Linked DNA regions of Homo sapiens: all the other regions are linked to region 1. Evidence: promoter capture Hi-C in 16 types of primary human blood cells and fetal thymus (Javierre and others, 2016). All regions are on one chromosome and are shown on one strand. Each heading gives the region's core, a stretch centred on a gene start or on the middle of the fragment in contact. The rest is flanking DNA. Distances are from core to core; before and after follow the strand shown.

Region 1 (4,952 bases), core at 413-2,912:
TAGATTTCTTCATGATCTACGTGGTTAACAAAATTACCTCAATAACATTTGGTGCAAATGAAAATCTAAGACCTCTCCTAACTTGGAGGAATACTGTTCAACTTTAGGAGTCAGAAAAGCAGCAACAGCATTTCTGGGATTGGCATTCTGCTTTCTATCTGGAAATATTCCAATAGCCTCTTGTTACCTTCTCTGTTCGTATCAACAAGTTCAAATGGGAAAGGACTGTACGTGTTGGGCGAAGATTTTTCAATTTTCAACCCATGTATGGTTTCAAGGATGCAGAAGAGCAGAAACTGTACACAAAATTGAATGTCTGCACACAGCTCTAATATTCTACGGCCATAGCTTTCATCAGATGCTCAAAGGAAACTATGAGCTAAAAAGGTTAAAATAGTACATGACCCTTCTTTCTTTTTTTCTCAGTTTTCAAATGACACGAAGCCTGACAAGATCCTTTAACTATGTAATGCTCTTTCTACAGCTCCAGGATGCTTTCCTTGCTTTTAACCATAAGTGTAATCTGCACCGTGTGTATTTCACTTCCTAACACCCAATCATCCATAACCATAAGAGAACATCAATAACTCAGAAAGCAGTAATACTCCAAGCAATTTATATGTGGTACTAGCATACACCAAATAATTTATATGTAGTACTATATGTTTTTCTGGGGAACAAACTTTCTAATGTGTAGTTTAGACATAAATAGATGGAGTACATAAAAACTAAGTGATCAAAAAGGTGATTAGAAATAGAAGAATAATTATCTTGAACAAATACAAAGGTCCAGCTATAAAGTAGATAATCCACAAAAAGACACAGAATTGGGAACCAGGAGAAACTCAGACCCACAAAATGAAGCTTATCATGCAGAAGACAGCCCAAGAATCCTAGACAATTATTTGATTCATTCAACAAATATTTACAGAGCATCTAATTTACGGCAGGCAGACTTTCTGCGCTTATGTATTCATAGGAATAAAATTAATAAACCAACAACTCTCTCCCTTTCCTCTTCCACACCCACCTTATCGATAATGCTGTTAATAATGAGAGGATTTTTCAAAATGTGCTGCCCAATCCCCGTGTTGAACATGAGTCCTGTAAGAAAATACGAAACAGCATTAATTTTCCTACTGAGATTAGATATTAGGCAGTACCAGAGAAGAAAGCTGCATGGGTATGGGGAAGATTTCTGCGCCAACCAGGGCCACGAAACGTCACGCCAGGACTGACAAACTCTTTATAAGTTCATCCTCCAGCTGGAAAGGAAGTCAGCGGCGACGCGCAGGGCCTGCGGCCGAGTCGGGGACCCACCCCTGCCTTCCGCGCTCACGGGAGCGCGTCCTGACCGGCCTCTGCCGATCAGGTCTTGGTCCGCACCCCAGGCTAGGTCCTGCCGGAAGACCTGACCCGACCGACCCCAGCTTCCTCGCGGGGATCCGCACCTCCAGCGCTCTTCAGCTCCCGGCGCTGCTCCTGCCGCCCGCGGCGGCGGCCGATGGCCCCCGACTTGACCTTCGGCATCTCGGCAGAAAGCGGGCCCACAGGCCCGGGACGTCAAGGAGGACCAAAGAGGGCTAGCGTGAGAAAGCCACCACGTGGGGATCGCCGCCACGCGCCGCCCGCACCACTCTGGCCCAAGCGCCGGAGGGGCAAGGGTCCGCCCCCTCCCGTACGCTCTGAGCTCCTCCTCCAGAAAAAGGGCGGACCTTGGAGCCCACTGACTGCCGGGAATTGGAGTCACAGAGGGAGGAAGGCCGAACCGCGGGAGCCTACAGATCCCAGAAGACACCGCGCTACCGAGGACTGCAGTCTGGAGTTGGAGCCCTTGTCCCAACCAGGGCTGGATAAGAAGGTGTTGGTGTGGTGCTCTCGGTGTTGCGAAGGCTGTTTAAGTTATATGATGAGGTTAAGCCTATGGATGTTTTAGTAGCCTAGGTTCTGGGATCGCTGAGGTCCAAAGAAGTATTCACGTGCCTCGCTCCTGTTTTCCTGAAGCTTGTGGGGGTGGGAAACCCGGGATTTGGGGATGAGCTTGCTCTTTTGTGGGAATGCATTTTTTGCTGCTTGCCCTGGGGAAAAGAACTGCGAGAATGGAATTAACGTCTGGTTTCGCTAGGGCTACTGGTTGCTTCTACTAAGAATAGAAGAGCCGGGCGCGGAGGCTCACGCCTGTAATCCCAGCACTCTGGGAGGCAGAGGCGGGCGGATCACAAGGTCAGGAGATCGAGACCATCCTGGCTAACACGGGGAAACCCCGTCTCTACTAAAAATACAAAAAATTAGCCGGGCGTGGTGGTGGGCGCCTGTAGTCTCAGCTACTTGGGAGACTGAGGCAGGAGAGTGGCGTGAACCCAGGAGGCGGAGGTTGCAGTGAGCCGAGATCGCGCTACTGCACTCCAGCCTGGGCGGCAGAGCGAGACTCCGTCTCAAAAAAAAAAAAAAAAAAAAAGGAATAGAAGAATAATTATCTTAAACAGATACAAAGCTCCAGCTACAAAGTAGATAATCCACAAAAAGACAGAATTGAGAACCAGGAGAAACTCAGACCCACAGAATGAAGCTTATCGTGCAGAAGACAGCCCGTGAATCCTAGAAAATTATTTGATTCATTTAACAAATAATTCAACAAATTCCTTTTGTGCCTCATCATTCACTCCGTAAACATTTATTGAGCTCCAACTGTGTATCAAACACTGCTAGGGATTCTAAGTAAGAAACTTATTTCAAAGTGTATTATATTGACAGAGATGGACAGAAACTCCAAAACGCTGTAAATACGATAACGTATTGGTCGTTGTGACAGGACAGTGTACCTGACTATAAACTCCGTGTGTACCAGGGCCATAATATCCACATCTGTTTTGCCAGCCAGTGTAATGGCTCTTTTAAATTTTTCTGTGTGTATTCTGTTTGGTTGAAGAAATAGCTTCTTCCTGTCATTACTAAAGCTAACTCTCTTTTGAGCAATTCATTGTGTACATTCCCAAACCTTGGTCTTAGGCCCTTCTTTCTTTGATGTAGTTCTAAGTCAGAAAAAAAATCTCGTATACCCTAGTAGCATCTTCAAGTATATGTTTCATTTCATCAATCATTGTTATTCCACAATTCTAAAGAGTACACTGTGCTAGGCACTTCCAAATGTTAATAGGATGGACATGGCCTGGAGAGGTGGCTCATGCCTGTAATCCCAGCACTTTGAGAGGCCAAGGCGAGCGGATCACTTGAGCTGAGAAGTTTGAGATCAACCTGGGCAACAAAGTGAGACCCCGTCTCTACAAAAAATACAAAAATTAGCCAGGCGTGGTGGTGCAGGCCTGTAGTCTCAGCTACTCGGGAAGCTGAGGTGGGAGCCTCACTTGAGCCCGAGAATTTGTAGTGAGCCAAGATTGCACCAACCTGGGCGACAGCATGATACCCTGTTTAAAAAAAAAAAATTAACATGACACAAAACCCTGTGTGTGATTTGTTATTGTTGTTGTTGTTGGGTTTTTTGGTTTTGTTTTTTTGAGACGGTCTCACTCTGTCACCCAGGCTGGAGTGCAGCGGCATGATCTCAGCTCACTGCAACCTCCGCCTGCCGGGCTCAAGCGATGCTCTCACCTCAGCCTCCCGAGTAGCTGAGACGACAGACATGAATCATCTTGTCCAGCTAATTTTTGTAATTTTTGTAGAGGCGGGGTCTCACTTTGTTCCCCAGGCTGATCTCAAACTTCTCAGCTCAAGTGATCTGCCTGCTTTGGCCTCTAGGTTGCATTTCTTCTGTGAAATAAAAGGCAAGTTTTTCTGTAGAGAAGGAGCTGTGGAGGTGGTAGGACAAGGGGCATGAGTGCGGAGAAGGTTTGAAGATCCTTTATGCGCAATGGGAGAGGAAGATTAGAGGGAACTCAAGAAGACATGGCATGTCTTCCAGCTAAATGTGGAGCCCAGTATCTCCAATGTGTACTGCTGTGTAACCACAGCCTGGAGACAAGAGCAGAGAAGGCAAAATTGTTCTTTTGATTCATCAATGAATGACCACTATTGCTCCCTAGAATAGCATTGTAGGCCTTTCAAATTAAGTTCCTATTTACCTTACTTATTTACTTCCCAACGTTATCAAGTTCCTTTTTCTTCCTTAAACATCTTTATACCTCGGCTTTGTGAGTGCTCTTCCTTTTGCATTCTCGACCTTCCCCTGGCTAACTTTTGTTTGCTGTTAAAGACACAACTCATATATATAATATAAATATATATATTTAAATATAAATATAAACATATATAAATATAAATATATATATATATATATATTTTAAGATAGAGCCTTGCTCTGTCACCCAGGCTGCAGTGCAGTGCCATGATCTTGGCTCACTGCAACCTCAGCCTCCCAGATTCAAGCTATTCTCATGCCTCAGCCTCTCAAGTAGCTGGGATTGCAGGCGTGCACCACCACCACGCTGGCTAATTTTTTTTTTTTTTTTTGTATTTTTAGTAGAGATGGGTTTTCACCATGTTGCCCATGCTGGTCTTGAACTGGCCTCAAGTGGTCTGCCCGCCTTGCCCTCCCAAAGTGCAGGGATTACAGGCATGAGTTACCGTGCCTGGCTTCAAATGTTATATTTTTAAAATAGTGGCCCAGGCTGGGTTGCAGTGAGGCAGACGTTGCAGTGAGTTGAGTTTGCTCCACTGCACTCCAGCCTAGGTGACAGAATAAGACTCCGTCTCAAAGAAAGAAAGAAAAGAGGGAGGGAGGGAGCGAAGGAAGGAAAGGAAGAAGGAAGGAAGGAAAGGAAGAAGGAAGGAAGGAAGGAAGGAAGGAAGGAAGGAAGGAAGGAAGGAAGGAAGGAAGGAAGGAATCCTGAATACTATAAACAAGATTCTTCTATGAATGTATTCTTTAGAATGATCTAAATATGTGGCTGGGCATGGTGACTCACGCCTATAATCCCAGCACTTTGGGAGGCCAA
Region 2 (4,952 bases), core at 920-3,419, 2.7 Mb after region 1:
CACCTGAGGTTTACCAATTTTAGAGGGGACCGAGGGAGAGGCAGGAAATGGTGCCTGGTGAGAGCACGCTCCCTTCCTGTCTCAGAGGGTTGCTGTCTGGACGGGAATTGAAGAAGAATCAGAAATACGTACTGAATTAGGATTGCTAGAGTTAATAAAACAAACGCACACGAATTTTTGTGTGGGTCATACTCATGCTCAAAATTTGTCGTTGTCTATCTGATATTCATATGGAACTCAGTGTGCTGTATTTCAGCTGGCAACCCTTTACTGAATGGATAACCCAGATTTGGACGAAACAGTGGCTGGAAGGTGGAGGCCCTCAAAGTCTCAAAGAGAGAGGTCCTCAAGATTTCTTTTCTAGGGCATCCTCTAGTACTCAGGGTAGAAACACAGAGTCTGTGGTGGCCTTGGGGGCAAAGACGAATGTGTCCTCTAAGGCTGGCCCACCATGGGGAGGAATCCGTGTTGAATGGAGACAAAGAGAGGTGTTAGGAAGCAGCACTGGCGTCCTGCTTCCTCTCCCTATGGGTTCCCTCTGCCTTTCTCCCTCGTCTCTCCCGGAGGGCTCTCTCCCCTCCACACGCCTCCTCCCCAAGAAACCAACATAAGATAATTCTCTTCACTTTAGTTCTCCTGTGCCTGGGTGTAGATGGGAATAAAGCGATGAACCTACGGGGCGAGCGGTGGGCAAAGCTTTCTGTGTATTTGCAGCTCAGCAGTCGAGCGTCCACCCCAAGCTGCATAAACTTGGGTGCCCTCGCCTCCGGCAACCCCGGTGCTTCAGTGCTCCCGACCTTTCTCTGCCGCCCCTCGCCTCGGCGGCCGCCGGGAGCGGCTGTGGGGTGCGCCGGTCGCCCCGGGCCCGAGCGGGAGGAGAGTCCCGCCCCGCCGCGCCCCGCCTCCGGGCGCCCCGACGCTGCCGGCGCGGACGCCATTGCTGCGGCCGCTGTTTGTTATTAAACTGCCCAGAGAAAGGGCTTCGAGTAAAAACACCAACTTTCCAGTCGGGGCGGCGCAGGTCCCCGGGCCCTGGAAAGTTCTGGGACGGCCGAGGTCTCCCCGGACACCCGCACCCACGCCCCCGTCGTGCCCTTTCTGGCTTTTGGCTTCCTCTCCTCGATTTCCCTTTTGTGCGGCCCCGGGCAGCTTCCTCAGGCCCCGCCGCCCCCACCTGGCCGCCCTGGGAGCTGTTCCTCCCCCAGCAGCAGGAGCATCCAGCTCGGGTTTTATTACCTCCCGAGACACTCGAGGAAGCCTCAGGTGGGTTTCCATGTCAACCTTCACTGAAATCCAAACATTTGGCGTTCTCAAAGGCAGTTTAACCTCTGCCACCATTTTTTTTTCAAAGCTTAAAAAAAAACCTAGAACTTTCAAAAGCCGCAGGCTTCTGGGGGTTTCTAGTCAGAGGGTGATAACACATCTTGAGACAGGATATGTATAATTTGTTTGGTTTCACGTTTATCCTCACAAAGCTAAACAGTAATGACTGAGAGCTATGAAAACACTTAGGTAAGGAGAGGGGCTAGAGCAGAGATAAAAGGGATAATTGGAAACAGAGGCGAAGCCTCCAAGTTGCACCTTGTTGAATACTGTCACAGCCGGGCAGGCCGGGGAGCTCATGGCAGGATGCGGCATCTCTTAATTCTGGGCACTCCGCAGCCTCTCCTCTTCCAAGGTTTACTTACGCAAGCTTAGCTGCAATTTTCCACAGATACTCGTCCTGGTTCCGGGCCACCTTCCCCAGTAAGAGACCTCCTGAGGCGGGAGCTGGGGGTTGAACATGTGGTGAACACAGGTTCCAAGCTTTGGAACAGGCCACCTGGAAATGGGAGATAACCTGTTGAGATAAGGGATTTACTGAGGCCAGGGCGCACTGTAGGGAGCGGGGAGCAGAAGGAGTGCGGCTCCACATGTCCAGTCGTGGGATGCAACTGGGAGGTAATATATGAGTCTAGTGAGACCACACGGGGAATACTATGTTCCTCATTGCCTCCCAAGGAAGATGCACATAATGAGCTGGCTGCCTTTCAGAGAAGAGCAATTAGGATGCTTAAGGGGCCACAGGGAGTGACTTAGGGGGAGAGATTAAAAGAATTAAGTATGTATACCTTGGCTGAGCTCAAAGCACAGGGAATGTGGAAACTCTATAAGCATCCTCCGAATATAAACATAAGGAGAAGTGGAATTGTTTCTCATGGTCCCTGAGGGATGGAACTGGAAGTAATAGGGTAGAAGAAAAGAAAACTTAACTACCTGCTAGAGAAAGCTGCTGAGCAGTCCCAGATACCAAAAGTGTCAGAGTCACACCTAATATTTTTAGAAATAAAGTCAACAAAGGAAGACACGACATGATAGGAGAAAAATACGTTTAGATAACAGGGACTGGTCTCACAGGGATGCTTTGAAGGGGTAAGAAAATAACACAAGTCAGTTTCTTTTAGGGAGTATCTGAAACCTTTGAAGGCTGCCTACTAACTAAAGTTTATTACCAGGTGTTTTTGCCTGGCATTCAAAGCCCTCTCCATCTGGCCAAGCTTACCCTCCTAAAATAATCTGTCATCAGTCCCCAACATAAGCACATCTCCTGAGTGCTCCTGGTGTAGTTCCTCCTTTGCGCGTGAAATTCCTCCAACCTGAAATTCCTCTAACCCGAATTTCCTCTCTCCAATCCCAGTGTCCAGCTATTCAAGTCTTACCCACTTTTTAGGGTCTACTTATATCCTACTTCCCCTGGCTACCCCAATCCATAATGCTCCTGCTGTCTTCCTCCTCCTAGAACTCATGTTGGTACCTGTCATACATTACTTGCATTGTTAGCTGATGTATTCTGATCTTATCTGGTCTTACAGATTGTGAGCTTCTTAGAAACTAGAGGGCATGTCCTCTCCCTTCCACTTCCCATCACTTTTTAATTCTCCGTGCTAGCTTTCATAACCATTATGAACCATAATTCACACAATAATAGGATTCTTTCCTGGTTTCTTCCTCTCTCTTGCTACTTCTTAGTTTTCTCTGATCTTCCTTTGGATGTTGGTGCCCCCAGAGTTCCTCCTCTTTTCTCACTCTCCATTCTTCCTGGAAGATCACATCCAATCGGGGGCTGCAGTGACCCTGCCAGTGCTGATGATTCCCAAATCTCTGTCCAGCTTGGCTGTTTCTTCTGTGCATCAGGCCCTTATTGGGCATCTCAAATTGGCCGTCCCATGTGCTCTTCAGCACTCCTATGGTACAAATCTGAACTCACTTTCTCTTTCAAACCATCTCTTTCTATTCTTGTGTTTCCTGTCTCAGAGAATGGCTCCCACATCCTCCTATTTGCCCAAGCTAGAAATCTAAGTGTCATCCTTGGCTCATTGCTGCCTTTCCCCCACAATCAGTCAATCACCAAATTCAGTTAATTCTACCACCAGAATATCTGAAGTGCTTTTGTGTCAATTCTATCACCTGAATATCCAGAGTGCTTTTGTGTCTGCCCGGGACTGCCGGCATCTTCCTACAGCCTTCCTGGTAACAGACCTTACTTCCTTGACCATTGGGGTGACCATGTCCCTTAGACAATGCTCTTATCTCTCCAAGGGGAGAGGTACTTTGGCCACAGAATTGAGTCCAGACATTAGCACATGATCCGAGCCCAGCCAATCCCAGCATTTCCTGGGAACTTGTATTCTGAATCTATTCTGAATCAGAGACAAAATGTCTCCTTTAGTTAGAAGCTGTAGAGATGTGATCTCAGAGCCACCAACAGGCCATGTACCCTACCAGGCCTGAAAGATGAACAGCAAACTTTCCAAGATGCACAGAGATGAGGGCAAAAGTAGAAAAGGGGTCCTGGCAGCACTCCATTCCCCCATCCATCCCTTGCTGGCCAGCAGCTCCCTTGTCTTTCTGTGATTCAGTTACTGAAACCAAGAAGTTTCTCATTTTTAATTGAACTTTTTGAGGTGGTTTCTGTCTCCTTGAAACAATTCTGATTAATAAATCAAATCTGTCTCATCCAGGCCACTGAAAGCCTTCTAACTGATTTCTGCAAACAACCTCACACCCTTTTATGCCATTCTCTGGTGCAGCACCATGACCTTTCTAGAACTCAGTCTTATCAAGATACTCCCGACCCAAACACCCAGATTTATTTCCAAGGCTTATGAGGCCCCTCACATCCTCACTCCTGCTTGCTTCTTTTCCCCATCTCTTGCATTCCCTGCTCTAGTATTCCTGAATGTCCTTCAGGTCCTCAGGGGCAGTGCTCTCTCTCCTTTAGGCCTTTGTACATAGTGTTCATTCTGCCTAGTTTCTCTTCTCCAGCTAATTGCAACTTGCCCTTAAAGTCAAAGTGGGAATGTTACATTGTCAGAGAGGCTTCCTCTGACTCCTAATCTGGGTTAGCTATTCTGTATTTCATTGATTACAACACTGCTTTTCACACATCTTAACGTATCTACTTGTGAAATACCTTACCTATCCCCACTAGTCTATAAATCCCTAAGAGCAAGTCCATGTCATAGCATCATAGAACTTAATACTTTGCTGGACATAATGAATTAATGATACCAGCTACCACCTATTCTCAAATGTGTATTTCCCCGTTGGGTTCCACATATATACAGGTGTCCTTCTGTATTTGTGGGGGATTGGTTCCACCACCTCCTGTGGATACCAAAATCTTTAAATGCTCAAGTTTCTAATATAAAATGGTGTACCATTTGAATATAACCCACGTACATCCTCCCATATGCTTTGAATCATCTCTAGATTACTTATAATACCTAATATAATCTAAATGCTATTTAAGTAGTTGTTATACTGTATTGTTTAGAGAATAATGACAAGGAAAAAAGTCTATACATGTTCAGTACAGATGCAATTTTTTTCTAATATTTTCAACCTGTGGTTGGTGAATCCAGGGATGTGGAACCTATGGATACAGAGAGCTGATTATATTTCTGACTGTA
Region 3 (4,952 bases), core at 902-3,401, 2.6 Mb after region 1:
GTTAAAAGGTCATCTGCTTTTTGAATTCTTTCCACTCTCCTCCCAGTTATTTGTGATAGTCTCTTAGAAGGTTAAAAATAACATTTATTTCCCCAGTGGTTTTGTATATTTCCATTTGGCAAACTTTATTTTGTTCCATGTGTTTCTAAGGGAACAGAAATGAAAATGGTTTATGTCCTACTTCCTACACTGGGCTCAATGATGTTGTCAGAAATGGAATTGTCTTTCGGTCCAAAGTGGGTACACCCAACCGTAAGCTAGGCTTTAATGCAGAAACTATATAAACTACAAAGACAATGGACATTGTTTGGCTATTGGAAAATCTACTGCGTTATACTTCCTTTAATCAAGCCATGAATTTTTTAATAGATTCAAGCCACTTTGCACAGACATGATAACAGTATAAAACTGGGTCACATTATAAGCATGAACCATGACACTGTGTCCCATTACTGAAATAAAACTAAAGGCAACATAAGAAGTCAAGATGGAGGGTGGTTGTTACTGGAAGGAGCACATGGAGGGGCTTCTGTGATGCAGGAAATGTTCTATTTGAAATCCAGGTGATAATTACATGAGTATGTTCAGATTGTGAAAAATCACTGAGCTTTACATTTATAGTCACATTTTTCTGTATTTATGTTCCACTTACACAAAACACTTAAACAGAGATTATGTTGAGGTAGACAGTTAAAGCAATGGGAGTGATTGTTCTTTCATTCAACAAACATTGTTTTAGTTCCCACTTGGTGCTCAATGGTAAGCAAAGACTTTGTACATATTACAGAATGAGTAAACTAAGGGCCACACAGCCTGATTTCAAGGATTTTACAGTTAATAGTCAGCTACAACGTAAGTTACAAGCGTTCAGTGTGTATACCAATATTAGATTCTTAGTTGGGACAAATAGACCATAGTAATATAAGATGTGAACATTGGGGGAAACTTGTTGAGGAGTACGTGGGAAATCTCTGTGCAATCTTTGCAAGTTTTCTGTAAATGTTGCCCTCTTCTAAATTTGAAATTGTTTAAAAATACTCAATTTCATAAGAATGACTATGAGGGAGACATTATTTTTGGACCAAGGAAATCAGAAGTGTCTTTGTAGAAGAAAAGAATGATTGAACTGGACCTTAAAGGAAGAATGAGATTATAATAAAGGGAAATGGAAAAGAAGTTTTTTAGATAGGGGAAACATGATACAAGAAACTGTGGAATGTGTGAAAGGACAGGACAGGGACTGATGAATTGGGAGCATGAAAAGGGTTGTGTACAATAGGACCCAAAGGGCAGAGGGCCTTGAAAGCAAATCGCGAAAGGCTTAAATTTTGTAAGTTAGCTAACAGACAAAAATTAAGCTCTGAATTGCTATAGAAATCCCTTGTTTTACAATGAAAAGTAAATATATTAATTACAAAATAGAGGCCGGGTGCGGTGGCTCACGCCTGTAATCCCAGCACTTTGGGAGGCTGAGGCAGGTGGATCACCTGAGGTCAGGAGTTCGAGACCAGCCTGGCCAACATGGTGAAACCCCGTCTCTACTAAAAATACAAAAAAATTAGTCAGGTGTGGTGGAGCATGCCTGTAATCCCAGCTACTAGGGAGACTTAGGCAGGAGAATCGCTTGAATCTGGGAGGCAGAGGTTGCAGTGAGTCGAGATCACACCACTGCACTCCAGCCTGGGCAACAAGAGAAAACTTCTATCTCAAAAAAAAAAGATAAAAATTAATATACTTAAATCATCTCCCCAAATCTCTGTATGTCTACCATAGAGCTAAAGGAATTAAGTCATAATATTTATAGAACACTTACTATATGACCACTACTTTATGTCTATCATCTTATTTAATTATCCTAAGATTCTTGTGAAGCAGTTCTTGTTTTATTTTACAGATAGAAGACTGAGAACTTGTTTATTTCCAATAAGTACAAAAGAGTCATAAATATAAAAAAACAGATATAGCCACCTGAAAACTTGTTTCCAACAAACACAAAGTCATAAACGTCAAAAATAATAAAGGACTTAGTGCTAGGATGTGCTTCAGTGGTTGAAATGGAACTCTGAGTTGGAAATATGTTTACATTTACACTTTGTTTAAATTCATTTTTTAACTGAAAAGATAGTCATCTGGGACTAATATGCATTATTCAAGATATAATGGTATTGATAAGCCCATTAATCAAGTGTGTTTTAGGGAATAATTCTGACAAGTGTGTTTGGCAAGGGTAATTATCACAGAGTACCAAAAACTGATAAAGTCTGGCCTACACAGACTAGACACAGTACAGGAGAACTCTCTCCCAGTTCAGTTAGAAACTCGTGTTTTGTGGAGTCAGAGACAACACAGCTAACTCCGTGGACAATAGAATGGACATCCCAGCTCCAAGCTGTGAATGTTTCCAAATAGTTCAAAGAGAATGAAAAGAGTTTAATCTTCCCATCTTGGGGTTTCCTAGAAGCATTGTGACTTGCCTTCAAAGCCAAGTTACTATGTGTTTGGGAATCAAATGGCTCAATAGTCGCTAATGTCATTTTTCTCCCTACTAAATACTTGGATAAGACACAGTAAGAAGAAAATAGGTTTTGTTTTGGCTGTTAATAATTCTCTAATCATGCAGAAATGAAAAGTTCATCAAAGATCCATAGTTTCTATTGAGAATTTCCTCCTATTGTTTTTTCTAAGAGTTCTCTTCCCCACAATAAACCACAAAACAATTTTTCCTCTCTTTATATTTGTTGAAAGAATTCAATTCTTGAGTGGAAATTTTGTTTTCCTTTAATTCCCAACAAACTGTATCCCATACCTGACAGCCTCAAGGTAGGAAGGCAGCGGAGTTATTCAAAGAAGCATTTTGTTCTTGGTCTTGCCATTCAATATCACAGGGTGTGATGAAAACTGGAACAAATATGGTCATCACAGAGGTGCCAGAACATTACATTTAAAAAATGGAATTATTTGAGTCAATCTGGAATGTCTGGTTCTTTTGGTTTGGGCCTCATGGGTAGCATTGTGCTTCAAAAACAACTTGAATTGGCTACCAGGATTCCAGAAGGGTAACATAATCCTGTACCTTTGAGGAGAGATGCTTATCTTTATGTCTACTCTTAGCAGAAAGAGGCTGGATTCTTCCACCTTTTCATGTTTCAAAATAAAAATTGTTCAAAAAGTTCCAAACCTGAATGGAATTTGGAAACAAGAGTGGGAGGAGGTACTTCCTCAAGTCTTTTGGTTTGTGCTGTTTTCTATTTGAAATAAATGCTCCACCATGAGTCAATATCCTCTAGAGCTACAGAAATGTGGGGTTTGGGGAAGGTTCATCCTCACCACTTCCCCTTATGTGATTTGGAATTTAGAGAAAAGGTCCCAGAAAAGATTAGTAATTCTGAATACAGTGCTCATATCTGCCCAGGAGACAGAGACACTTAAAGGGGCAGGAGCTGGCAATAACTCAACTCCTGGCAAATGCAGCCTGCAGCCCAGTGACCTCCACCCCTTGGAGTGATGCTGCTACCCCTGCAAAGGGCTCCACAGAGGGCTGTGAACACAGGGCAGGTCTCACTTTTCTCTTGTCAACAACACACAAAGTTGTAGGGGTGTGTCTGACCTTGATAAAGGGCTGGAGAGAACCAAAGGGAATTATAGCATATGAAGAAAGGAATTTTAAACTGTGTCATCCAACAAGGGGGAAAAAAATCCCCACCGAGTTTAGGGAACACACCCGAACTCCTAACCTGTTGACTTGCTGTCCCATAGTGGGAATGAATCCCTAGATACCTTCAGGACTCAAGGGCCTCATCCCTTGGGGGTTTGTCTACCTCCAGCATTTTTCTTCTTCCTAACGTAGTACACATCTCCATCCTGGTATATCCAGCCTAGAAGATTCTAATGGTTTCCACAGGACAATCCATGGTGCTACCCAAGAGTCTTGAATCCAGTTCCCTTGAAGGCCTCACCTTCAGGGTGGTGTGGATTGCAGACTGAATTCTCCCACTTGGAAGGCGTATGTGTATACACACACACACACACCCATTCATCACACAAGGACATTCTCCTGCCATACCATTCTCACATACCAGAAATGTAACATCGACACAGTAATATTGTCTGATATAATATTTCTCAATCTTCAATGTGCGGATAAATCACTTGGATGGGACTGAAATTCTTCAGTTCCAACAAGCTCCCAGGTGACACTGCCACCACTGCTGGGCCACAACGCACACTCCAGGTAGCACTGATGTAATATACAATCCATATTCAACTTTCTTCAATTGTCTCAAAATATCTCCTACAATTCTTTTCTTTCCTCCCCATTCAGGATCCAGGCAGGAATGGTGTGTTGTATTTGGCTGTCACGTCTCTTTAGGCAGAGGACGTGAACTTTTTATTGGCTGCTCTCTTACTTATACAAAGACCCAGGAAGAGTGTGCAGATTTCCCCTTGTGAGAACCCCTCCTCCCAGTTACACTTAGAAAAGGACCACCCTCCTCACAGTCTCAGTAAATGAAGGACAGAGAGAGAGTGGAAGGAAGCACCTGGAGATGACACTGTGAAGTGCTGAGAGGCTCTATGATGGCTAGGCTCTATGATATGTTTTTTTTTTTGCAAATCACACACATTGACCACTAGGGATATGAGGCCTACCGCAGAATAACAGCACAACATTCAAAAATAGCTTCAAAGATGTTTTGCTATTCTTATTCCCAGACTTAAAGAGTTGATTCCATCTCTCCAGAGAAATTAGAGTCCAACGCTATCAACAAGCATGATGCACTCCTGTGAGGTGGACAAATGTCATTTCCTATTTTCTAGGGTTTAGAGTCTAGATAGACATAATCCCTTCTAGAAGAACCCTCCAAAGGACTCCAAGCAGGATGGGCCATGGGGACCTGTAACTGTCCAAATCCCACTGCTCTCTACAGTGTGGGCGGCAGTCCCCTCTTGCTTAG
Region 4 (4,952 bases), core at 768-3,267, 2.4 Mb after region 1:
CTTTTCTCTCTTCCTTGTTTATATGGTATTTGAATCCTCAGGCAGCTTGGCTTCCTAGCTATCCAACTTTCTAGCTCATTGCACTAACCACATGGTTTTAGTTGGACATTATTTCCTAAGCATTTCCTTTCCGTTTCCACTTTCATACATGTCCTCATACTAGTTCCCCTTCTTTTGGTATGCTTTTTCTTCCCTTTTTTTACTGTTTAAGTCTACCCATTTTTAAATGTCTGTTCAAAATTCTAGTTTCTCCACACAGCCTTCCAGCTAGCATCCAGTGATATTATTATCAATGTCTCTAGTTTTTTTAGATTTGAGTCATAAAGTAACTATTTTTCTTTTTTTAAAATGCTGCAGAATTATACATCCACTGAAGTGTTTTTCCCTGCAGAGTATTCTCTTAGGGAAGTAAACCTTCCATTTTTAGAGCTTTTTGTTGGCTTCTAGAATACATTACATATGGTTTGGAATATCTCCAGCGGTGGCAAATCATTGTTCTTCTAAGTTATATTTGATTTTTAGAGACAGTTTTATTCAAGGTATCAGAAAACAACATTTTGGGTCAGAAGCAAGGTGTGAAAGAGAATCCAGTAGTATGGTATGATGAGATCTCTCTAAATAGACGTAATTATCAGGTGAAGATTTAAGAAATGAAAAATACCCAGATACCACCCCCTCTCCAAAAGAGAGAGGTGGGGAGGAGTGGAGCGAGAGAGAGAGAGAGAGAGAGAGAGAGAGAGAGAGAGAGAGAGAGAGAGAGAGAATGAAAGGACATCTGCAAAGACCATTATTAATAATTGCTGTGGCAGGCAGGAAGGAAATAGAGTCAGGTAGGTAGTTCAGTCAGAGAGGCCTCAAATATCTGTTAACCAAGTTGAGAAACACAGGAGACATGAAAAAGTCAGACTTGTTTCTGGTAAGAAGTTTTGAAGATTCAAAAGCTCAAGTTTTACAGAAGGAGAGTAAAATTACAAAAACATTAGAAAGAATGAATGGTAAATTGCAATCCATGACCAGGTGAATGGAAGAAGCAGAAAACATCTGGATACAATGTGACAGTGAAGAAGAAATGAGGTTCTTAAGTTGGGTGATGATAAAACTCAATTATTACAACAATTATTCCCCTATTTATAATAATGCAAGGAGAAAGAAGAAAGAATAGAAAAATAATTTTAAAAATAACCACAACAATTATCTTAATCAAATTCACCAATCCTCTTAATTGAATAGAGATAGAATTATTATTGGAAAGGCTAACATGAAGCCTAAGAAGACTGATTTAAACAAGGATACTCCTAAATAAGTTAAGTCAAGGTTTCAAAAATATAATCCAGAAAACCCCATTTTAGTTCTTTGCTTCTATGATTTAGACGAGTCATAATGTTTCTAGATCTTGAAACACTCATATTTATTTTTTTAAAGCATGGTTTCCAGAATTTAAAAGCAAATGAATAAAACATGAACAAGTAAGAGCGCAGTCTCAGATATGGCCCTCAACTAAAATGATGTTCATAGCCAAAGGATGGTTTATAGCCTTTAAAAAACCAAAGGATCTACATTATACAGACTTAATCTTAGATTTTTGGTCTTTGCAGCATAGTTAGGTGGACATTTAAAATGAGTGGAACTTTTAAAAACTTATCAATTAAAAAATAGAGCAAAAAAGATATAAAGGAATGAAAGGGAAGCTTATTAGCTTTGATAATTTCATTAGTTCCTCCAGTGTGAGGAAGGAGTATAATTTTATGTTTGTTTTATAGACAAGTGGGGAGCAGAGGGAGAAGTGGATAAGAAAATCAAAATGTTTAATACATTGTGTGACTACTAATCTCTTCACCTTTATTTCACATCATTCTTGTCTCATCATGGTCCACACTTCATTGCTTATCTTTTATTCTTTAATAATAGTTTACTAATTCTTTAGAGTGACAAATATAAGCATAAATATGCTATAAGTTAAAAGAAATTTCTTTACAAAACTAAAATATTTGTTTAAAAAAATACCAGATAGTGCAGACTGGTCGCAAGATGAGTGTTAGATAAAAAGTTATTAATGATAACATTTACATAGTTAAACACAAAACAGGATTCTAGAAGAAGAAACGTATAACTACTTTAAAGTGCAAGTATAAATTCCTCTATGAACTTGGGCAAGAAATATAATTAGTCAAAATATATGATAATGCCCATAGATTATTGTAGCCAGAAATAGAAACCATGTGACAAATACTAGAATGACAGCAATCAAATAGGAACTTTGTTTCATATTTAAGATACATTTAGGTATCTTTTTTCAATAGTGGAGAACATTCAGGAGGATATTATGAACGTGCATAATGAAATAATAAAGCTTTTTCAAAACACTTGTGATGATGCATAAAAATTTAAGAAAATCAAATAAACATTGCAAGCAGCAAAATATACAGTATTATAAACTATAAATACAACTATAAATGCATAGTTCAATAGTGATTACTAATAAATTACAAAGAAGTAGAAATAGTAGATATGGAAGATTTGTGGACATTGGAAATTCCAGCTATGTTAGAATACAAAGTTATAGTGTAGAGAGTATAGAAAATTTTTACTCATTTATATATAGTATAATAATTTCATGCATTCAACAGGAATATAACTAGGAAAATCATAAAGAAAATCTTAAAATAAAAAGCCAGCATCACTGAAATACTTAATGGGAAATAGGAAAAAGAAAGAAAATGGTGAAATTCTAAAATTTGAAAACACAAGTAATAAAGACCTCTTTCATGTCCTTTTTCCGTCACAGGTAACATATATCTGGGTTTTATGGATCTTGCTTCATAAGTAGTTCTTGAATCTGTGTATCTCAAGATAAGCCATAGTTATGTAATGACCTCAGGATAGTAGTTGCTTGCTTGCATTCTCTCACTGGCTCTCTGTCGCATGCACTTGCGCTGTCTCTTGCTTTCTTTCTCTCTCTCTCTCTCACTCCCCCTCTCTCTCCAGTCATGTCTCTTTCTAATATATTCACACTGGGTAAGAGTGACATTTTGAAAATGCAAATCTGATCATGTGCACAGTGCTCAAAAAGTATTGGTTGGCTGCTTATTATGGGTCTAGATGAATATTCATTATATGATATATACTGGGGTATATTTTATATTCAAATTTGAATATGAATTTGTAGCATTTGAGTGAAGATATTAGTTTGACCTCACATTTGTGTTGAACTTGAAAATGTGTAGTTTGCTTTCATATTATTTAATCTTCAGATTGACACTGTGCCTTAATTTATGTTATTAGATTTATGAGAAAATGGAGTTTAAGACTGTATAGCTAGCAAAAGGCAAGACTCAAACTCCTGACTGCTACATACAGTGTTAGTGTAACTGATGAAATGGTTACCTAGGAATATAGGAGAGATACTTTAAGACCTTTTGGTTTTTATAGTATCTATTTGTAACCAGAGGGAATTTGTCTGCACTAGGGAGCTCTTGTAAATGCAGCCCAACTGCCCTGCAATGGGAGAAGGGACTAAGCAAAAATCAGCTGGTCTTCCTTTCTACTTCTTATGTACTGTGTACTAAATACAGTTGTTAGAATACAGATTATAATTTTTAAAATATGCATTGTATATCCAGTTATACTTTGCAAATATAAATAATTATGAGGGTGTCTCCAAGACACTAAAATAGGAACTTTATAAATTATGTCAGTAACTGTATCAGTAAAATGCCTGGCCCACAGTAGATACTTGATAAATATTTTTCATTGAATGAGTTATATTCAGGTTGTATTCAGTTGCAGGTAATAGAAGACCCAACTCAAAATGATTTAAATAATAAAGACATTTATCCTCCTGTATGTCAAGAAATCTGGTGAAATCTTTAGGGAAGCTCAGTGAAATCTTTAGGGAACTGTGCTTTTTCCATCTTTCTGCTTTGTAACCCTCAGCATGTGATTGAATCATGACTGCCTAACTCGATGATTGGCTCAACCACAACCTGCTTTGTTGCTATTTGCTTTTTGTTTGTTTTTACAACAACAAAAATAATAGCTTTTGTTTATTCAGTACTTCATACTACATATGTTTTCCTCTTGTGCTTACCTAATGTAAGTACAGAACTAATTTCAGTGATGTAAAATTTCTTTCCTTCCACCTAACGGATTTTTTGAAAAAACTGTGGTGAAGTTTATATAAAATAGAACTAACCATTTTAAAGTGTACAGTTCAACATCATTTAGTATATTCACTATAATGTGCAGCCGGCACCTCTATGTAGTTCTAAAACACTTTATTACCCCAAAAGAAAACTCTGTATCCATTAACCCAGTCATTCTCTATTCTCCCCTTGATATGGTTTGGCTCTGTGTCCCCACCCAAATCTCACCTTGAATTGTAAACCCCATAATCCCCACATGTCTAGGGCAGGACCAGGTGGAAGTGATTGGATCATAGGGGCATTTTCTCCCTTACTGTTCTTGTGATAATGAGTGAGTCTCATGAGATCTGATGGTTTTATAAGCATCTGGCATTTCCCCTGCTTGCGCTCACTCCATCCTGCTGCCTGAAGAAAGTGCCTGCTTCTCCTTTGCCATCCGCCATGATTGTAAGTTTCCTGAGGCCTCCCCAGCAATGTGGGACTGTCAATTAAACCTCTTTCCTTTATGAATTATCCAGTCTTGGGTATTTCTTCATAGCAGTGTGAGAATGGACTAATATACCCCTCCTCCACCCACAGCCCCCAGCAACCACCAATCTATTTTCCATCTCTGCAGATTTACCTATTCTAGATATTTCTTATAAATGGAGTCAGACAATATGTGACTTTGTGTTTGGGTTCTTTCACTTAGCATGTTTTTGAAGTTCATCCATTTTGTAGCATGTATGAGTATTTCATTCCTTTTTGTGACAGTCATATTCCATCATATGTATATATCACATTTTATTTATCCATTCATCCATTGATAGA
Region 5 (4,952 bases), core at 727-3,226, 2.4 Mb after region 1:
AGTCTGCCTCTGTCGCCCAGGCTGGAGTGCAGTGGCGTGATCTCAGCTCACTGCAAGCTTGGCCTTCTGGGTTCACACCATTCTCCTGCCTCAGCCTCCTCCTGAGTAGCTGGGACTACAGGCGCCCGCCACCACGCCAGGCTAATTTTTTGTATTTTTTTTTAGTACAGATGGGGTTTCACCATGTTAGCCAGGATGGTCTCGATCTCCTGACCTCGTAATCCACCTGCCTTGGCCTCCCAAAGTGCTGGGATTACAGGTGTGAGCCACTGCTCCTGGCCCTTCTTTTTTTGAGACTGAGTCTTGCTCTATCACCCAAGCTGGAGTGCAGTGGAGTGATCTCAGCAAACTGCAACCTCTGCCTCCCAGGTTTAAGTGATTCTCCTGCCTCAGCCTCCTGAGTAGGTGGGATTGCAGGTGCCTGCCACCACACCCGGCTAATTTTTGTATTTTTAGTAGAGACGGGGTTTCACCATGTTGGTTCCTATCTTTTTTTAATATGTCATTGAAGCTTTTGAGCATTGTACTCTAATCCCATTGTTTCCCTGTAAACCCTGTCATAGTTAAAAACAAATATGTTGTAGCAGAATTTGACTGGAATAAAATCAAATGAATAATATAATCTGAGGGTCTTTCATTTTGAAAACAACTGCATGTTGAGAAAAGCTCAGAGAATTGGGGTCAGCGTTAAATCTGTTTCCATAGAAACTGTAGATGCTAAAAAAATACTGAATAAAATTATGCTAAATGCATCATTACTATTACTACAACAGAATAAAAATGTTGTAATAGATCTGAAATAATCTTATCTCTGCATGTATTAGAATTGAACTCATGACAAAAGGCACTGATAAATTCATCACTCAAGTATCCCACAGTTTTAGAGTAAACAAACTATGAAACTTTTTCTTGGCAGATCATCATCTTTACTAAAGTTGAAACTTTTACATGACAGGGAAATATAACCAGAACTCTAAATAAAGTACTTTACATCAGCTAGTTCCTCACCAGTCTTTGGTTAAATTATTATTTCAGCTTCATTAGTCTTTAATTTTCGTGATTGTCTGGGCAACTGAATGCTTCTACCCAAGAGTTTGAATCTGAGGCAACTGACTTAATAGATCTGAGGCAAGTGACACAATAAAGTGGGGAAAGTTAATTCATTCTGCTGTCAGGATCCAGTTTCCAGGGGCACTGATGTCACTGGCAGTAGCAGCCCTAACCAGGTTTGGGCTTGTGCAGGATCTTGGATATGGGTTCCCTGGGTCATTTCTATTTTCTGACCCTTATTATGCAGGCTTTGCTTAGATTCACTGAGCTAGCTGATATCTTTCCTTTTCTGCTTAAGTTAACTAGTCAGTTTCTATCGTTTGGAATAAGAACCCTGGCTGATATAACGGTACTCAAAATCCATGTCAAAGTGACTATAGTAGAGCTATATTGTGAGGTCCTTACTCAGCTAAGTTACCTACTTCCCTGCCTTGGGCTCCCGTGCAGTTCTTGGCTCCATTCCTTTTTGAAGTTTGCTAAGGCTGTTCAGAGTAATACAGTGTGCCCACCTCAAAATTTTCCTTTCTAATCATGACCTGCAATCCAAAAGGCATTATATAAAAACTTATAAATTTGACATTGGAAAAAAACTGAATGGCAAAAACCACCAAAAGCAAACTCAAAAGACACGTGGAAACTTGAGGAAAAAATATTTGCGCCTCATAGGACCAAAAAAGAGCAATTATCCCTATGTATATATCTCAGCAAATCATTAAGAAAAAGATCAGTAACCAACAGGAAAAAAATGGGCAAAGGATGTTCACAGAAACGGAAATAGAAATGACTCTCAAACATGTGGAGATATGCTCAGTCTTACTTAAAACAGGTAAAATGTACACTAAAAACTATACTGGGATTCCATTTTCACTTATCAGAATCGCAAAGATTGAAAGGTTGAAGGAAGTGTAGGGGGGCATACTCTCATACATTGCTGGCAGGAGCATAAATTAGTACTATCTCTTATGGAAAGCAGGCTGACAAAACCTGTCAGAATTACAAGTGTACATACCTCTCTGACACAACAATCTCACATTTGGGAATTAGTTCTCCCAATTTATGTGCACAAATGCATACTGACTTATGTACAATGTTATTCACTATAGCATTGTTTTTAATAGGGACAGAGTAGAAATAATTTAAATATCAATACGGAACTGGCTAAATCAATTACGGTATGAAATAATGGGGATGGTTTTTATTTAATGATGTCATGATCGCTAAGATATACTGTAAAAAGAAAAAAAGCAAGGTGCAGAACAGTGTTTATGGCATGCTGCCATTCGTATAAAAAAAAGAAGATGATAGAGCAGGAGCACTGTCATCTGGGACAAACACCACCACTTTAAATTCCAGCTCCCTTTCTAGCCTCATGCATTTCAAGGAAATTACTTCTCTTCTAATTGTAAGCAGCCAGAAAGAACAGACAATAACATACAGATAAGACAGCTGGGCACAAAGGGAGGTGGGGGGAAAGTCTCTTGAGCAACTGCCAAACTTCACCCTCATACAATGGGCCCCAGTAAAATAGTGGGCCTTAATAAGCACATTCCTTTCCCTTCAGGTGCACTAGGATAGAAAAGCTACATGCAGACTGATAGGCCTGCAGCTGCAGAAAGATGTATGGGAACAGACACACAACTCTCCCTCCCAGATAAGCACAACAAAGAGTCAGAGAAGCAGTCCAAGCCTCTGATAAACTCTCCCACCCTGAATCTTTAAAAACTCTTAGTTTGTAAGTGAGTGTGCCTCTGACCTAACTTGGCCAGAAGGCACCTCTCACGTTTGTTTTCTCTAAATAAATCTGTCCTGACTGGCGAGCCATCTTTTCATGTTTCTTACCTCTTTCTTTAATTCTTACAGAAGATATTAGACATACCTCTGTAAGGATATAGATTGGTTACTTGAAGAAAGAAAACTAAGTCCAGACAGAGAAGGACTTGAGTAAGAGACATGTCACTATATACCTTTTGGCAGTTTTAAAATGTGAAAGGTGATTAAATTACCCTTTCAAAAACCAATCTGGAAAATCTCCCTCAAACAAACAAAACTGTAACACTAAGAAAAGTAACTGTCAAGTAAACATTATCTGACAAAAGGCAATTATTGCATTTGTAAATTCTTCAGAGAGGTTACATTGCAGACTTTCAATAAAATTTTATTAATTCATGATGTCAGAGTCTTCATTCTTATACTTGCTAAATATTAAGGGCTTACTCTGAATCTAGTATTCTGTTAAACAACTTGGGTGATAGTGGGAGGAATCAGGTAATTGGGCTGGTCCTTTTTCTTCCAGTAACTTAAAGTAGCCATATAATTTTGAATCCAACTCAGTGCTTACCATGATGGAGAGTTGCTAAGAGGTGCTCAACAAATACTTATTGATTTGAGGTTATAAGCTTAAGAAAATACAGTCATGTTTCATTTAATGACAGGGATACATTCTGAGAAATGTGTTGTTAGGCACAACACAGAAATTTTGTCCTTGTGGCAACATCATGGTGTACATAAATCTGGGTGATATAGCCTGCTATACACCTAGGCTATATGGTATAGCCTACTGCTCCTAAGCTACAAACTTGTACCGTATGTCACTGTATTGATACTACAAGCAGTTGTAACACAATGGTGAGTACTTGTGTATCTAAACATACCTAAACATTGAAAAGGTACAGTAAAAATAAGAGTATTATAATCTTATGGGACCACCATTGTATATGCAGTCAGTTATTGACCAAAACATCATTTTGTGGTGCATGACTATACTTCAGAAGTTGGAAACTGGCAACTTCTCTAGACCCCAGTTGCCAGCTAAGAAATACGCGTGTGCGTATACACACACACTCAATTTATTTGTCAAAATTCTTCAAGCCAAACATTTGTGATCTGTGCTGTTTTTAAAACATGTAAATTATGTCTTAGCAGTTAGCACAAAAGAAAAAAAATTTTAAAGTTAACAGTAGACAACGAAGAAACAGAAAATATTGAGAAAACCAAAAAGAAGGGACAAAAATAAAAGGACTGAGAAAAATTGAGAGAAAGATGGCGAGTCCTCAACACTTGCTTCAGGTTGGTCAGTGGTCCGCAAAGGAATGTCATATTCGATTTAAATTTATTTCCTTGAAATTTTACATCACCTATCTTTCCAAAGGCAACAACTTAGTCACTGGGAATTTTAACAGTGATGCTTAGAACTTAATATATTTTTCCTATTGTCTATTTTGGAATTTAGGGAAGCCTGACATTTTCATTACATTAAAATATTTCCTAGAATCGCTTAAATTTAAACATATACAGCTTAAGTAACTAAGTTTTTTAGTACTAAGTAATTAGAAATTGCAATTACTTCTGTCACAGGACCCATTCTTTTCATTTTTAATTGGATTAGAGTCAATTAGATTAATTTTGTTTAGTAACAAGTTTTATATTTGGTTACTCCATTATGGTTTTAGTTACAATCGGGGAACCTATAAAGACAATTTCAATTACTTCTGCTTTTAAAATTCAAACTGCAGCCATATTTTATAAGTGGTAATATCTATTTATATAATATATATGTTCTGCTTAAGTTGATGCAAAGTAAAATTCCAAGTATTTTATTTTTCTACCATTTATATTAAAAATTCATAGACACACTCCTTTCTTTGGGACCCCAAATACTGTACTAAAGTCAAAGTAGACAAAGCAGTAGAAATTAGTCATTTTTTACTAAAACATTAATACTTCGTTAATTAATAAGATAATTTAAAAAATAGGCTAAATGAGTTTCTCAATGCAAGTATTCTGAAATAGCAGATGTCTTAATAGTCCATTAAAAATGCCTTCATAGGCCAGGTGTGGTGGCTCACACCTGTAATCTCAGCACTTTGGGAGGCTGAGGTGGGTGGATCACTTGAGGCCAGGAG

Evidence for each region. Contacts are between HindIII fragments. The CHiCAGO score rates a contact against its expected background, and 5 or more counts as called.
Region 2: a fragment that was not itself captured here is called in contact with the fragment with the promoter of DIMT1 in region 1 in 1 of 17 cell types (naive CD8 T cells); the score reaches 8.0 in naive CD8 T cells.
Region 3: a contact is called between a fragment that was not itself captured here and the fragment with the promoter of DIMT1 in region 1, in 1 of 17 cell types (total CD8 T cells). The highest score is 5.4, in total CD8 T cells.
Region 4: a contact is called between a fragment that was not itself captured here and the fragment with the promoter of DIMT1 in region 1, in 5 of 17 cell types (non-activated CD4 T cells, total CD8 T cells, total B cells and 2 more). The highest score is 13.4, in non-activated CD4 T cells.
Region 5: a fragment that was not itself captured here is called in contact with the fragment with the promoter of DIMT1 in region 1 in 1 of 17 cell types (total CD4 T cells); the score reaches 5.8 in total CD4 T cells.

Annotation. Positions count from the first base shown.
Region 1 is chr5:62,402,243-62,407,194 of GRCh38, forward strand. It overlaps DIMT1 (DIM1 rRNA methyltransferase and ribosome maturation factor), which reads right to left and starts at 1,663. Exons shown (of 12, transcript NM_014473.4): 1 at 1,452-1,663; 2 at 1,031-1,104. The coding sequence starts at 1,530. RefSeq lists an enhancer at 1,584-1,873. The HindIII fragment of the contact is 1,140 bases long and covers 863-2,002 here.
Region 2 is chr5:65,102,209-65,107,160 of GRCh38, forward strand. No RefSeq gene overlaps it. Among named protein-coding and RNA genes, the nearest start is that of CWC27, 340 kb to the left of the region's middle. RefSeq lists enhancers at 281-781, 782-1,282 and a silencer at 764-1,053. The HindIII fragment of the contact is 731 bases long and covers 1,805-2,535 here.
Region 3 is chr5:65,038,411-65,043,362 of GRCh38, forward strand. No RefSeq gene overlaps it. Among named protein-coding and RNA genes, the nearest start is that of CWC27, 270 kb to the left of the region's middle. The HindIII fragment of the contact is 8,098 bases long and covers 1-4,952 here.
Region 4 is chr5:64,775,360-64,780,311 of GRCh38, forward strand. All of the region lies in intron 2 of CWC27 (CWC27 spliceosome associated cyclophilin), which reads left to right. Among named protein-coding and RNA genes, the nearest start is that of CWC27, 8.9 kb to the left of the region's middle. The HindIII fragment of the contact is 662 bases long and covers 1,687-2,348 here.
Region 5 is chr5:64,757,895-64,762,846 of GRCh38, forward strand. All of the region lies in intron 1 of SREK1IP1 (SREK1 interacting protein 1), which reads right to left. LOC124900985 (a long non-coding RNA gene) reads right to left here. Exons shown (of 4, transcript XR_007058787.1): 3 at 1,473-1,586. Among named protein-coding and RNA genes, the nearest start is that of SREK1IP1, 8.3 kb to the right of the region's middle. The HindIII fragment of the contact is 2,935 bases long and covers 510-3,444 here.